Regions from separate parts of the Homo sapiens genome. Here region 2 is linked to region 1. The links are contacts of gene promoters, found by promoter capture Hi-C in blood cells and fetal thymus (Javierre and others, 2016). All regions are on one chromosome and are shown on one strand. The core of a region is centred on a gene start or on the middle of the fragment in contact, and the rest is flanking DNA. Distances in the headings are between cores, read along the strand shown.

The links. The method cuts DNA at HindIII sites, captures the fragments that hold promoters and counts their contacts. A CHiCAGO score of 5 or more calls a contact.
Region 2: a contact is called between a fragment that was not itself captured here and the fragment with the promoter of NCOA5 in region 1, in 5 of 17 cell types (non-activated CD4 T cells, naive CD8 T cells, naive CD4 T cells and 2 more). The highest score is 9.7, in non-activated CD4 T cells.

The regions. Positions count from the first base shown.
Region 1 is chr20:46,088,442-46,093,471 of GRCh38, forward strand. It overlaps NCOA5 (nuclear receptor coactivator 5), which reads right to left and starts at 1,521. Exons shown (of 8, transcript NM_020967.3): 1 at 1,376-1,521. RefSeq lists enhancers at 1-807, 745-954, 808-1,621, 1,635-1,684 and a silencer at 1,125-1,474. The HindIII fragment of the contact is 2,710 bases long and covers 101-2,810 here.
Region 2 is chr20:43,453,071-43,457,889 of GRCh38, forward strand. No RefSeq gene overlaps it. Among named protein-coding and RNA genes, the nearest start is that of SRSF6, 2.4 kb to the right of the region's middle. RefSeq lists enhancers at 4,163-4,482, 4,543-4,702, 4,624-4,819. The HindIII fragment of the contact is 271 bases long and covers 3,435-3,705 here.

The DNA.
Region 1 (5,030 bases), core at 271-2,770:
TGGGCTTTACTGGTTGCAAAAAGTAGACACAAAGTTAGTTTTCACACCCAGACTGACTCATAGAGAAAACATTAAATTAAGAGTTGTCAAAACTCACAAAAGCTTCCCCAGCATTTGTAGAAACATCTTTTTATGAGCCAACAGGGGGCTACGACATCACAACGCTGTAAGAAAATTCAGGCACACCGGGTGCACCTGAGTGAACACAGTTCTTGCAGTTCCCTGGGACTAACACTTTTAAGTCAACAAAGAGAACAGTTTACAAGAAAGCTGTTACATTATCCCTGAAGAGCCCAGGGCATTCATAGAATCTGCTTTGCCTCAGGAAAAATTCTGTGCACAGAGTGCAAGCCAGAAGAACCACAATTAATCAGCTACTCCTCGGGCAGCGTTTCCCAAAGTGTGGAACGCAGAATAATTTCAGGAGGAACAAGGACGCACTGTTTATTTCAACAGACAGATATTTATTTTTTTTATAAGCATTAGAAAAATAACTGGCTTTCCAGTACCCGGTTTGTGATTGAAGTTGCCGCCTTAAATATATTTAAGGAGAAAAAAAGAGTCAGTTTGAATTTTTTAAAAAATGTAACATTTGGTAAATAGCAGTACAGATGGTCCACGGACATAAAGGTGCAACGCGAGACTGAAACGTGTGCAACGCCGTCCTAAGAGAAGCCCCTCGCCCGCTGGCGGGGAGCGGACAGTGCCCCGCGCCGGGAGCTTGGAAAGCCGGCCGGATCGGACGCTGGCGCTGAGCTACGTGGTAAACCCGGGAACAGTTCCTCTCCCCGTTCTCTGGGCCCGAGGTCCGCGCCTACAAAACGCGTGGGGTGTCACACCACAAGGAGACACCCCGAGAATGCGGTCAGGGGCCGCGAGACGGTGGCGGGGGACAGCGCTCAGTACACCGCTCGGCGCTGCACGCCTGGAGAACGCCCGGTGCCACGGGACGCCTTGGGCCCGGTTCGAATCCCGACTGCGCCACTGACTCGCTGAGGACCCGCGGGCGAGCGACTCCACCGTTTCGACAGGGGGTGCGGGATGTGCGGCTCAACCAGAGAAGCCTTGAGGACTCCTAGTGACCGACCGTTCGTGCACAGACAGGCGGCTGCGATGCGACGCCGCCGACCTGCGTCCACCACAGAGAACCGTAGGCCGCCTCGGCCGGCCGGGCCTGGGCCTGACGGGAGCCGGAGGCGGCCGCGCCCCGCACCGGGCATGCGCAGCACCGCGCGCACCCGGAGAGGAGCCGAGACCGTGGCCGCGCGTCGAGTGGGCCTTCCCGCCTCAGCCTCCCCGTCCGGCCAGGCCCCCCACAACGGCCTGCCCGTCAGCCCCACGCCTCGGCTGACGGCCAGCGCTTCCCGGCACTCACCGCTACCAGCGCGGCGGGCTCCCGGCCGCTCCTTCGCCTCAGGCCCGCCGCTGCCGCCTCCGCGTCGGCCCACCTGCCCGCCGTAGGACAAAGGCGCCACCAACCGACCGGCGCGGGCACGAGGCAATGGCGGCCGGGCGGAGAGTGGAGATGGGGGCAGAGGGCGCGCACGTAGCGGCAGGCGCGGCACTGTCGCAAGACCGCGCGTGTTTACGGCAGGGCTGAGTTGGGGCGTCGATCTCCTTGGCAATGAGGGCCCGGGAAGTGGCTCTCGGGCGGGAGTTGAGAACGCAGGGAGTTGCCTAGCAACAGCGTCCTAGGCTGAGGATGGGCCCCACGGTGGTCGCCTCAGCCCCCGCCCCAGAGTACTTTTTTTCTGTTTTCAGAGCACATTCCCTCCTCCCTAACTGTGGGAACAGAACATTCAAATCCCCAAATACCTTGATTTAGTCTTGCATAAAACTGAAAGCAAAAACCCCAAATCCCTATACACGTGTGTATTGGAGAATATATATAGTCCTGTAACCTCCGGACCACAAGGAACAAAGAGAGCAGAAAGGTGGAGAAAATGTTGTATTTAAATTTACATTTAAATAGGCTCTGTACTCTATTAGTTTCACTGACAAGCGGCAAAAGGTTTCTGGAGATATAGTCACAGGTTCTTCTTGAGTTATTTATTCTTGGAATATTCGTTCAACGTCAAAAATTTCCCGGAATGTAACTGTTGACCGTGAAGCCTGTAAAATGTTGTACTGTTCATTTCATGTATAGAATACATTTGTCACAGGGAATGGGATTTGCTCACACAATAGTAAATGCACTCTATTAATCACAGCCATAGCTATATTAATCAGGTACTCTTTTATTAGTGTTGGAAACGCCTCAGACTCCATGGGGTCTAGTTCTTCTCCTTGCGAATATTGCCTACTAAGAAAAAATGGTGCCTGCGGAATTTAAACACTACAAGAAGCCAGATTTCTTTGACATCTACCCCTATGCTCACTCCACTCATTTATTCACTGAATGTTTATTACATACCTACTATGTAGCCCTATACTTATTATATGCCTGCTTGTTAGGCGCTGTTATGAGCAAATGCAGACCCTTTTCTGCTATCTTTGAGATTACAGTCTGGTGAAAGCATTAGACGAATAATCACACTTGAGTGTGTAATTGCAAACTGAGATAAACGCTGTGATGGAAAGAAATAGGGATTCTCAATGGTTGTAACTAGAACTTTAGTTTACTCACAGGCAAAGTGGGTTATTCCAATTCCCACTTTATAAGACTGTATGAAATTAGAAATGAAGACATAAAGTCTGTCAAATAATGGATACCCAACAAATGTTCATTCTTATTCCTTTCCCTCCAATATAGATCCTAATACTATGAAAATTTAAGAAGAATCATATTAATTAGATGATTAAGATAACCAAGCTTAGGGAAAAATGTTGGTTTAGAGGTGAGTGGCAGTACCTCAAGTGGGTAGTGGACTTTAGCCAAAAGATGTATTCAGTGACTTGTGTATTAAGTGTTTAATGAGTGTTTTTTATGCACTTGATTTTGTGGAGAGTAGAGAGTAAGGTAGACAAAATCCTTGTGCTTAGGGAGCTCATGGCCTATTAGGGAATATGAGCAATAAACAAACGATAATATATAGTGTTTGATGAGTATTTTTGATAGAGGAGCAAGTTAATTTTATGAAGAAAGATTCTTGTAGGGAGGCAGGTGCTCAGGACTTGGTGACTTCTTATTTAGATGTTTGCTTTACATAATAGGTAACATCTATTGTGTGCCTACCATGTGCTGAATCCTTTACACATATCATCTCATTTAATCCTCACAACCCTATTGAGAGGTGACAGCGTGCTGGCAGCCCTCACAGCCCTTGCTCACTCTCGGTGCCTCCTCGGCCTCGGCGCCCATTCTGGCCGCGCTTGAAGAGCCCTTCAGCCCGCCGCTGCACCATGGAAGTCCTTCTCTGGGCTGGCCGAGGCCGGAGCCGGCTCCCTCCGCTTTCGGGGAGGTGTGGAGGGAGAGGCACGGGCGGGAACCGGGGCTGCGCGCGGCGCTTGCGGGCCAGCTAGAGTTCCAGGTGGGCGTGGGCCTGGCGGGCCCCACACTCGGAGCGGCCGGCCCGCCCTGCTGGCCCCAGGCGTGAGAGACTTAGCACCCAGGCCAGCAGCTGTGGAGGGTGCGCCGGATCCCCCAGCAGTGCTGGCCCACCGGCGCTGCACTCGATTTCTCACCGGGCCTTAGCTGCCTCCCCGTGGGGCAGGGCTCGGGACCTGCAGCCAGCCATGCCCGAGTCTCTCCGCCCCACCAACCCTCCTCCCTCGGGCTCCTGCGCGGCCTGAGCCTTCCTGACGAGCGCAGCCCCCTGCTCCAAGGTGCCTGGTCCCATCGACCGCCCAAGGGCTGAGGAGTGCCGGTGCACGGTGCGGGACTGGCGGGCAGCTCCACCTGCGGCCCAGTGGAAGATCCACTGAGTGAGGCCAGCTGGGCTCCTGAGTCTAGTGGGGACTTGGAGAACCTTCGTGTCTAGCTAAGGGATTGTGGGTGCACCAATCAGCACTCTGTGTCTAGCTCAAGGTTTGTGAACACACCAATCAGCACCCTGTGTCTAGCTCAGGGTTTGTGGATGCACCAATCCACACTCTGTATCTAGTGGGGACTTGGAGAATCTTTATGTCTAGCTAAGGGATTGTGAATGCACCAATTGGCACTCTGTATCTAGCTCAAGGTTTGTAAATGCACCAATCAGCACTCTGTCTAGCTCAGGGTTTGTAAATACACCAATGGACACTCTGTATCCAGCTAATCTAGTGGGGACGTGGAGAACTTTTGTGTCCAGCTCAGGGATTGTAAACGCCCCAATCAGCACCCTGTCAAAACGGACCAATCAGCTGTCTGTAAAACAGACCAATCGGCTCTCTGTAAAATGGACCAATCAGCAGGATGTGGGTGGGGCCAGATAAGCGAATAAAAGCAGGCTGCCTGAACCAGCAGTGGCATCCCGCTCGGGTTGCCTTCCACACTGTGGGAGTTGTGTTGTTCTGCTCTTTGCTATCAATCTTGCTACTGCTTTTTGGGTCCACACTGCTTTTATGAGCTGCAACACTCACTGGGAAGGTCTGCAGGTTCACTCCTGAAGTCATTGAAACCACGAACCCACTGGGAGAAACAAATAACTCCAGACGTGCCACCTTAAGAGCTGTAACACTCACCTGGAAGGCCTGTAGCTTCACTCCTGAGCCAGCGAGCCCACGAACCCCCCAGAAGGAAAAAACTCCGAACACATGCGAACATCAGAAGGAACAAACTCCGGACACGACGTCTTTAAGAACTGTAACACTCACCATGAGGGTCTGCGGCTTCATTCTTGAAGTCAGTGAGACCAAGAACCCACCAATTCTGGACACACTGTAATATGTGTACTATATTCCTATTTTACAAATGAGACAATTGAGGCCAGTTAATTTGCTTGTCCCACAGAGATTATGTGGCATGGCCAGACTCACTGAACCTGTGCGGCCTGATGCCCAAAATGCTATTGTAACCACGAGTGATACTGTCTTCTGGGATAAGAGGTTCCCTTCCAAATCAGGGGGTACCTGATTGGTGTAAAAGCCTGTAACCCTTCAGAGGTGAGCAC
Region 2 (4,819 bases), core at 2,320-4,819, 2.6 Mb before region 1:
TTTAGTGGAGACAGGGTTTCACCATTTTGGCCAGGCTGGTCTCGAACTCCTGACCTCAAGTGATCTGCCCACCTCGTCCTCCCAAAGTGTTGGGATTACAGGCGTTAGCCACTGTGCCTGGCCTTTTTTCATTTTTTGTAGACTTGCTATATTGCCCAGGCTGGTCTTGAACTCCTGGCCTCCAGAGATCCTCCCACCTCATCCTCCCAAAGCGCTAGGATTACAAGCACAAGTCCCTGCACCCAGCTTCCATTCCTAAATTTAACAAAATTTCAGAGTCCCTGTGGTAGTGTGTGTGGAATTGGTTCCTTCCGGTGGGTTCTTGGTCTTGCTGACTTCAAGAATGAAGCCGCGGACCCTCGCAGTGAGTGTTACAGTTCTTAAAGATGGTGTGTCCGGAGTTTCTCCTTCAGATGTTCAGATGTGTCCCGAGTTCCTTCCTTCCAGTGGGTTCGTGGTCTTAAGCTGCAGACCTTCTGCAGTGAGTGTTACAGCTCTTAAAGGTAGTGCGGACCCAAAGAGTGGGCAGCAGCAAGATTTATATGTGCATGTATACATAAATATGTATAGAGAGAGGCTTAAGTCCATGGAATGTAGTTAGGGAAAGGAGAATTTGACAATGATAACATTTGTTACTCATCAAACTCTCATTTTTAAAAAATTTATTAAAATTATTTGCAAGAGTTGAAGCAGGAAATGACACTCTTACGGTATTGGTGGGACTGGACATTGCTTTGGGGAGTTAGTGGGATAGTATTTATTGAAGGATAGGGAATTCGTTTGTCAAAGAGAAAGATGCAGCTGATATCATCCACTCTTCCTCTCACTTCTCTTTCCCAAAGCCCAGTGGCTACCCCTAACAAAAAACCCAAGAGCACTGCTGCGGAAGAGAAAACAGTTTCAAATATCATAATTGAGAGAGGTGCTGGATTGTCACCATTCTGTGGAGTCTTCCTGAGGACCCAACTCTGCTGATGTGTTGGGAGAACAACTCAAAGGAGAAATGGTAGATGTGCAGCATGGGAGCTCATATCTTTTCTTATTTCTTTCTTTCCTTTCTCTCCTTTCTTTTTTAGACAAGAGTCTTGCTCTGTCACCCAGGCTGGAGTGAAGTGGAGCCATCATACCTCACTGCAGCCTTGACCTCCAGGGCTCAAGTGATCCTCCCACCTCAGTCCCTGGAGTAGCTGGGACTACAAGTATACGCCGCCAGTACTGGCCTTTTTTTTTTTTAAGAGATGGAGTCTTGCTATGTTGTTCAGGCTGGTCTTGTGCTCCTGGGATCAAGTGATCCCATCTCTGCCTCTCAAGGTGATGGGATTACAGGTGTGAGCCACGGTGCCCGGCAAATCCCCTCTCGTAGCAACTCAGGTGTATTTGTATGGAGTGGAGTGAATATAGCAGTAGTTGCTCCAGGAACAGAATCCAGAATTGGAAACTGTCAGTGACAGAGTTAGAAAGAATCATGAATCAGATGACTGAAAGATCCTCTGAGGCTCTTCCAACTGGGAGATTGGATTGCATGTTGCCAAGCTAGTCCAAACTTCGTTTTAAAAACTTCCATAGGCTGGGCATGGTGGCTCATGCCTGTAATCCCAGCACTTTGGGAGGATGAGGCTTGAACTCCTTGAGCCCAGGAGATCAAGATCAGCCTGGGTAACATAGGGAGACCCTGCCTCTATTTAAAAAAGAAAAGAAAAAAACTTCTGTACAGGATTCATTTGGAATAGCACTTCTCAACCTCAGCTATTGACATTGGGGACCAGATAATCCTTCGTGGTGGGGCTGTCCTGTGCCTTGCAGGATGTTTCGTGGCATCCCTGGCCTCTACCCATGAGATACGAGCAGCTCCTTCCCTCCTCCAGCTGTGACAACCAGAAAGTCTTCAGATATTGACAGATGTCCGCAGGGGGGACAGAACTACCCCCTGTTGAGAACCACTGCCCCCTGTTGAGAGCCTTCCCAATAGCTGTGACTATAGGCATGTGCCACCATGCCCAGCTAATTTTTTAAAAAAAAAGTTTTTTGTAGAGATGGGATCTTGCCATGTTGCCCAGGTTGATATCGAACTCCTGGGCTCAAGCAATCCTCTCACCTGGGCCTCCCAAAGTGCTGGGATTACAGGCGTGAGCTACTACGCCTTGCTCCTTGCTTTTCTTTATTTCATTGAGTCAGTGTCTTGCTTTGTCATCCAGGCTGCAGTGCAGTGGCATGATCATAGCTTACTGCAGCCTCGAACTCCTGGGCTCAAGAGATCTTCCTGCCTCAGCTTCCCAAGGTGCAGGGATTACAGAATCATATTTTTTATCTGACTTTAAGCACGGTCTCTATCTCCCCCAGTCGTGACAAACAACGTTTCCCTCCAGACTGCCAAATAGCTCCAGGAGGGCAAACCCCGCCCCCCCTTTTCAACCCGAAGCGGAAGGATATTGAGGTTGCACCACTCAAAACAGAGCAGGAATACAAAAATATCCAAAGAGCTGGTGTTGGGCTTGGCACAATGGCTCACGCCTATAATCCCAGCACTTTGGGAGGCAGAGACGGGTGGATCACCTCAGGTTGGGAGTTCGAAACGAGACCAGCCTAACATGGTGAAACCCCGTCTCTACTAAAAATACAAAATTAGCTGGGCGTGGTGGTGCATGCCTGTAATCCCAGCTACTCGGGAGGCTGAGGCAGGAGAATCACTTGAACCCAGGAGGCGGAGGTTGCAGTGAGCCGAGATGGCACAGGTGTGAGCCACAGAGCCTGGCCTGGGCTGCGTTCTTTCAGGAGGCTCTGGGGCGAATCTGTTCCCTCGTGTCTTCCAGCTTCCAGAGGCTACTGGCACCCTTTGGCTTATGGTTCCTTCCTCCATCTTCAAAGCCATTAACTTCGGTTGTGACTTTCTTACAGCCAATCACTCTGACCCCAATCCCAGCCTCCTTTGTCACATCTGCTTCTCTGACTGTGGCTCTCCTGTCCCCCTCTTGTAATCACCCTTATGATCACATGGGGCCCACCTGGACAATCCCGGGGCATCTCTGCATCTCAAGATGCTCAACTTAATCAGATCTGCAAAGTCCCTTTTGACATACAAGGTAACATCTTCACAGGTTTCAGGGATTAGGATTAGGATTAGGACATAGACATCTTTAGGGGGAACCCTTATTCTGCCTACCGAGGTGAAGAGGTGAAGCCGGCTGGGCTTCTGGGTTGGGTGGGGACTTGGAGAACTTTCCCGTCTAGCTAAAGGATTGAAAACACACCAATCAGTGCTCTCTGTCTAGCTAAAGGTTTGTAAACACACCAATCAGCACTCTGTAAAAACGGACCAATCAACATTCTGTAAAATGGACCAATCAGCAGGATGTAGGCAGGGCCAAATAAGGGACTAAAAACTGGCGGTCCAGCCAGCAGTGGCAACCCGCTCGGGTCCCCTTCCACGCTGCGGAAGCTTTGTTCTTTCCTTCAGGCAGGTTGGAGTCTTGCTTTGTCACCCAGGCTGGAGTGCAGTGGCATGATCATAGCTCACTGCAGCCTCGAACACCTGGGCTCAAGAGATCCTCTTGCCTCAGCTTCCCAAGGTGTGGGGATTACAGACTCGTATTTTTTATTTATCTAACTTTAAGCACGGCCTCTACCTCCCCCAGTCGTGACAAACAACGTTTCCCTCTAGACTTCCAAATAGCTCCAGGAGGACAAAACCCCCCTTTTTCAACCCGAAGCTTAAGGATATTGAGGTTGCACCACTCAAAACAGAGCAGGAATACATAAATATCTAAAGAGCTGGTGTTATCTCAGTGATATCCCTTTTTTTTTTTTTTTTTTTTTTTAGCTTCGGCGGTGACACCTACTCTCCTGGTCTTCTCCCTACCTCGCTAGTCACTCCTCCCAGTCTCCTTTCCTGCGCTTAAATTTCAGAGTACCCCAGGCGTTGGCCTGGGTCTTCCGCTCTCCACTTAAACTTACTCCTTTGAGGTTTTCAATCTGGTTCTACAGCTTTAAATAGCATCTCCATTGATAAACTCACAAAATAAGGCACTTTCAAGTCAGTGGAGGAAATGATAGTATTGGGACAAAGGACTTTCCATACACGGGAGAAAAAAAATCGTTCGTCGCTGTGGGAGGGCTGCCGGGTCTCGTCCACGCTCCCTTTTGAGCACCTACAGTGAGCGTAGGATTGCCACGGATAGCCCAATCCACAAGTGAGTCAAGCTGCCAGGGCTCCAAGAAAGACCCATGGAGGGAGAGGGGAACGTCCGGGGAGGCGAAGGCTGCGAGTGAGACCCGGAGAGGCTGATGTCGGCGGGTCTGCGCGCTCGCAACGCGACCTCCGCCCGGTCAGCAAGACCTCGGCGCGCGATCCTCAGATTCTGCGAAACAAGACAAGCGACTGGGTCCGAGACCGCGGTCCCCATCAAAACGAGCATCAACCAATCGCTGGGAGAAATCCGCAGCCTCGTTTTAAGCCACCAAGCAGAGACCGCGGCGACCTATTATGATAACCTCGAGAACCAATGAAAAACGGGGATTCGCTCAGCCCGCCTCCCGAGCTTCAACCCCGAAGAGATCGCGCACAGTTTTATAAAAGGTACAAATTAGAAAGCAGTTCTGCGGCTGGATTAGAGACATTGTGTTTTCAAAGACGGTGGGGAGGGCTAGAGAAAAATCCTAGAAGCTAGCAAGACCGCACTACACCGAAACGTCGCGGGCAACGGACTCGCCAGTCACCATCTAGCCCAGGGACGACGCGGGACGGACGTGCCGCTGCGCGCTGACATCACGCTCCAGGCCCCGCCCCACCGGCCGCCCATATAGCGAAAGCCTGGCGCGCGCG